Linked DNA regions of Homo sapiens: region 2 is linked to region 1. Evidence: promoter capture Hi-C in human tissues and cell types (Jung and others, 2019). All regions are on one chromosome and are shown on one strand. The core of a region is centred on a gene start or on the middle of the fragment in contact, and the rest is flanking DNA. Distances in the headings are between cores, read along the strand shown. Region 1 holds the start of PRSS22 (serine protease 22). Region 2 overlaps MEIOB (meiosis specific with OB-fold).

Evidence for each region. The method cuts DNA at HindIII sites, captures the fragments that hold promoters and counts their contacts. A contact is called where the count stands out against the background at its distance.
Region 2: a contact is called between a fragment that was not itself captured here and the fragment with the promoter of PRSS22 in region 1, in 1 of the 25 tissues and cell types used here (spleen).

What each region holds. Positions count from the first base shown.
Region 1 is chr16:2,856,894-2,859,593 of GRCh38, reverse strand. PRSS22 (serine protease 22) reads left to right here and starts at 1,424. Exons shown (of 6, transcript NM_022119.4): 1 at 1,424-1,571. The coding sequence starts at 1,490. RefSeq lists enhancers at 238-837, 838-1,438, 1,439-2,039. The HindIII fragment of the contact is 21,792 bases long and covers 1-2,700 here.
Region 2 is chr16:1,832,655-1,835,354 of GRCh38, reverse strand. MEIOB (meiosis specific with OB-fold) reads left to right here. Exons shown (of 14, transcript NM_001163560.3): 14 at 989-1,369. The coding sequence ends at 1,099. It also overlaps a transcript of FAHD1 not described here. Among named protein-coding and RNA genes, the nearest start is that of FAHD1, 6.8 kb to the right of the region's middle. RefSeq lists a silencer at 2,213-2,507. The HindIII fragment of the contact is 8,140 bases long and covers 1-2,700 here.

The sequences.
Region 1 (2,700 bases), core at 175-2,674:
CCTTATCTGCAGAGTGGGAATAATAAAGACATTTGAGGATTAGGAGGCAATGCATGGCACTCCTAAATGTTTGCTCTATTATATAAATACTATATTTATATTTGTATAAATATATTTATTACATACATATTCACTACTATGGTTTTTTTTTTTTTTTTTTGAAACAGAGTCTCGCTCTGTCGCCCAGGCTGGAGTGCAGTGGCGTGATCTCAGCTCACTGCAACCTCCGCCTCCCAGGTTCAAGCGATTCTCCTGCCTCAGCCTCCCAAGTAGATGGGACTAAGGGCGCCTGCCACCATGCCTGGCTAATTTTTTTTTTTTTGTATTTTTAGTAGAGACGGGGTTTTACTATGTTGGCCAGACTGGTATTGAACTCCTGACCTCATGATCTGTCCGTCTTGGCCTCCCAAAGTGCTGGGATTACAGGAATAAGCCACCCCACCCAGACACTATGGTTGTTTTTAATTCACCCCCGGCGGTAGCAAGGGCCCTGCTGGAGGCTTGTTGATCGAATGAGTGAAGGGGCGCAGGCTCCTGCCTCTTTGTAGAGGAGGAAGCCTGCCCTGCTTGGGTGGGAGTGTCCCAAGTGTGGGGCGCTGCAGGGCACTGAGTCAGGGAAGGTCTCACAGGATTCAGCCCCGGGTTGCCACTGTGGCAGCCGCTGGGGGGAAGCACCGAGAATCCACTCCCAGCCCAGGACCCGGCCCCCCACAGCCCAGCCCAGCAGCTCTTTGAATCCTGGGAGTCCCAGCCCTTCCCGGGGCCCCTCTTCTCTCAACCCCCCTGCTTGGCCGAGCCCTGGTGCCCATGGGCTCCTCCCCTTCCCAGGAGTCCAGGTGAGGTGAGTTGTCAGGTGTCTGAACCGCAGGGCAGAGCCCCGCCTCCAGGAACGACAGGAGGGCGGCCACCAGGAGGCCACCAAGGTCGCCACTCACCTGATTCACAGCTTTCGGGAAGTGGGTTAACGGGATTCCCAAGCCCGGGTTGCGCCAGGTCTCTGGGCTGAGTCACAGGGGCCTGGGGCCCTGCAGGTGGGAGCCGTTACTGAGCTTTGGGCACCCCCTTGATCCCTAAGGCCCTAGGACCACCCCCAACACCCAGTACCCCAGACTTCAGCCTCTCCAAACCCAGGCCCTCCCCAGCCCGGAACCCCTTCCTTTCAGTGCCCTGGCACCTTTCTCTGCCCCTGGACAATTAATGTCAGGGACCTCTGGGCCCAAGCCCCCTCCCCTGCCCTTCCAGAGGCCACATCCTGGGGTCTCAGCTAGAGCCCCCCCAGAGCCCTGTAGCGGCTGGCTTCCTCCCCGCAGCCCCGCCCTCTGCCCAGGACCCACAGCCGGGGTGGCCGCGGGAGCCACCTGGGGACTGGTCTGACGGCATTCCGCCTCCCAGGATAAAACCTGGGGCGACCTGCAGGGAACCTACACACCCTGACCCGCATCGCCCTGGGTCTCTCGAGCCTGCTGCCTGCTCCCCCGCCCCACCAGCCATGGTGGTTTCTGGAGCGCCCCCAGCCCTGGGTGGGGGCTGTCTCGGCACCTTCACCTCCCTGCTGCTGCTGGCGTCGACAGGTACGTCCGGAGGCTGCTCCTCCCTCCTCCCTCTCACCTCCACCCTCCTTCCCTCCTTCCCTCCCTCCCTCTCTCCCTCCTGGCCTTGCCTCTCTCATCTCCTTTCCGCTTCTGCTCTGTTTATCTCTTGCTCCTTAACTGCTCTGTGCCTCGGTTTCTTCTACGGCTGTGAGGATGAAACAGAAAACGCAGCAAGTACGCAGCGCGCCTCGGTCTCCAGTTACCGTCGGCGTCGCCATCGCCTGCTCCCTCTCGCCTCCGTGTTCTCCCATCTCCTCGTCCTCCGCTGCTTGCCTCTGGGGAAGCACCGTTTTGTGTTGTTCCTGCCGCAGGAGGTCAGGGGAGGGCACACCAGCGGCAGCAGCGTCCAGAGCCGAGGGGCTCAGGTCTGTGCCTCCCTCGAGGAGCCGGTCCTGGTCCCCGGAAGGCAGGCTGGACGGGAAGCTGCGGGAGGGCAGGGTCACAGCTGTGCAGCCAGGGCCTGGCCAGGCCCCAGGAAATGCCCCGCCGGTAGGGGCCCTGGGGTTGAGAGACTTGAGAGTCTCCCTGGGCACTGGAGGGCTAGAGGTTCCTCACCACCAGGTACTCAAGGGGACCCCCTCCTCACTGGGCGCTGGGACGCCTGCTCACTGGGCGCTGGGACCCCTCCTCACTGGGCGCTGGGACCCCCTCCTCACTGAGCGCTGGGACCCCCTCGTCACTGGGCGCTGGGGACCCCTCCTCACTGGGCGCTGGGGAGCCCTCCTCACTGGGCGCTGGGGACCCCTCCTCACTGGGCGCTGGGGAACCCTCCTCACTAGGCGCTGGGGAGCCCTCCTCACTGGGCGCTGGGGACCCCTCCTCACTGGGTGCTGGGACCCCTTCCCACTGGGCACTGGACCCCTTCTCACTGGGTGCTGGGGGCTTCTCGCTGGGCGCTGAGGGACCCTCCTCACTGGGTACTGGGACCCCTCCTCACTGGGCGCTGAGGGACCCTCCTCAGGGGGTGCTGGGACCCCTCCTCACTGGGCGCTGAGGGACCCTCCTCACTGGGTGCTGGGACCTCCACCTCACTGGGCACTGGGATCCCTTCTTACTGGGTGTTGGGGGCCTTCCTCACTGGGCGTTGAGGGCCCCTCACCACTGTGTC
Region 2 (2,700 bases), core at 58-2,557, 1.0 Mb after region 1:
TTGAGTCCCTGCTACAGCTTAAAGTCTATCACAGTTGGTAGTTTGAACACACATTAAGCCCTTTTTCATATGTTATACTTTTTTTTTTTTTTGAGACACAGTCTCACTCTGCTCGCTCTGTCACACAGGCTGGAGCACGTGGTGCGATCACAGCTTACTGCAGCCTCAACCTTCCCAGGCTCAAGTGATCCTCCCGCCTCAGCCACCGAGTAGCTGGGACCACAGGTGTGCACCACCACACCTGGCTAATTTTTATATTTTTAGTAGAGACAGGGTTTCACTTTATTGGCCAGGCTGGTCTTGAACTTCAGGCCTCAAGTGATCTACCTGCCTTGGCCTCCCAAAGTGCTGGGATTACAGGCATGAGCCACCTCACCCAGCCCTGCATTAGACATTTTTTTTAGTGGGGGGGGGTGGGGGGGACAGAGTTTCGCTCTAGTTGCCCAAGCTGGAGTGCAATGGCACAATCTCTGCTCACTGCAACCTCTGCCTCCCGGGTTCAAGGGATTCTCCTGCCTCAGCCTTCTGAGTAGCTGGGATAACAGGTGTGTGCCACCATGCCCGGCTAATTTTTTGTATTTTTAGTAGAAATGGGAGTTTCACCATGTTAGCCAGGCTGGTCTCGAACTCCTGACCTCAGGTGATCCACCCGCCTTGGCCTCCCAAAGTGCTGGGATTACAGGCGTGAGCCACTGCACCAGCACCCGGCCACATTAGACTTTTAATCCCAACTTTCCTACCTGAGAGAAATAGCATGAAAAGTGACAAAATTTTTACAAAATCAGTCAGAAGCTGGGCCTGTAAATTAACTGTACTCCGAGACTGGAACTCTTCCCATCATCTTACAGCTCTAATGGAAGTTTATATTAGTATCTGTAAACAAAACTTTCATTGCAGTTCTCTATTCGTGATCATTGATTTTTCAACTTGATATACAAGGGGATTTTAAAAATTAACCTTTTGTCTCTTTTTCTGTTTCTCCTCGCAGTTCGTTCTATCACACAGAGCAAGGAGTGGATTGAAAATTAGTGTACTCTCGTGCAAGCTTGCAGATCCTACTGAGGCAAGCAGAAACTTGTCTGGACAAAAACATGTTTAAAACGGTCTATCATTTTGAACTCTGGAAAAGTATAAGAGTTTTAACTCCCTTTAAAATGGAATATTAATTTGAAAATTATGGGGAAAATTGCATTTTGTTTACATGTGGTGAACATGTTTCTAGAAATTGTTATGGTGGAGGTGGTCTGGGTGAGTCTGAAGGCCTCTCTCATCTGACCTCCCTTCTTAGAAGGCCTCCTACTGTCTTTGCCTTGTCTCCTCCCAAGTTGGAAAATGTTTACATGAATTAATAAACAGATTTAATCTTCTACAGATTTGAATGATTTATTTTCTTTTCCATGTAGTTGAACGGCTTTGAGTGAGTTTCTTAATCCTGAGTGAATGATTTATTTTCTTAAGCCAGTTTATTATTTGTCTTGGTTCCCTGGAAAAAGAGTAGGACCTCAAGGGCTGGGCACGGTGGCTCATGCCTGTAATCCCAGCACTTTGGGATGCCAAGGCAGTCAGGAGATCGAGACCATCCTGGCTAACACAGTGAAACCCCATCTCTACTAAAAATACAAAAAATTAGCTGGGTGTGGTGGCACGTGCCTGTTGTCCCAGCTACTCGGGAGGCTGAGGCAGGAGAATCTCTTGAACCTGGGATGAGGAGGTTGTAGTGAGCTGAGATCCAGCCACTGCACTCCAGCCTGGGCGACAGAGCGAGACTCTGTCTTAAAAAAAAAAAAAAAAAAAAAAAAAGTACCTCTAAAGACTACTTTCTGAGAGCTGGGTGGTGACTCGTCATCTGACAGATCTGACAGGATGAGGGCAAGGGGCTCTTGGTGCTGGGTGGGAATAGCCAAAGTCGTGGGCAATCCTGTGCGACTGCTTTGAGCACCTGGGGCTCTTCTAGTCCCTGGTCTTCTCTGGTGACACACTGGAGTGCCCAGTGCTTGTGGAGGCTTGCTGGCTCAGGGCTGACATGACTGAGTCTGAATCAACTGGGAGGAGACCAACTTCAAAAGGTTCATGAGCATGCCTGGGTCTCAGAACTCTGAGGGGGACCTACTCAGGACATGAGGACGACAGCTGCCACTTTATCTGTTTGCTTTGCAGCAGCCACAAAGTAAACGGCTCAACTGCACACCATTGAGAGTCACTTGCTTCAGGGCGCAGACTCCAGCTGTGAAGACCCACCGCTAAGGTCAGTGTTGACCCACGGCCTGGGAGGTTTGACCTGGTACTTTAGAAGGCTACATGCCCTCCACCACAGGATTGAAAAAAAAGGAAAAAGTGAGTATATGAAACTGTTTCCTAAGGCTGGTGTTGGGAGATAAACCATCGTCAGTCATGTTTTATCTGGCTTTTACCATGTGCAGCCACAGAGGAGGGATGCAGGTTCACCCCTAAGTGTCCAAATTGTGGTGATAAGGTAATGAACGACTTGACCTAGTTGTGCAGAACAGGCCTTCCATCCTCCCTTGGGGAGAACTGGGGGGTTTGTGAAGCCAGGTGAATGGGGAGGGTGGACAGGGAAGGAAGGAGAGGAGAGAAGTGAGGGTGTCGTGGTTGGTGCTGGCTTGGCTCCCACTGTTGGTTCAGCAAGAGTGGGTATGGTGCCCCCTCCACTGAGCCCCGTGTCCAGGAGCTCAGGAGAAG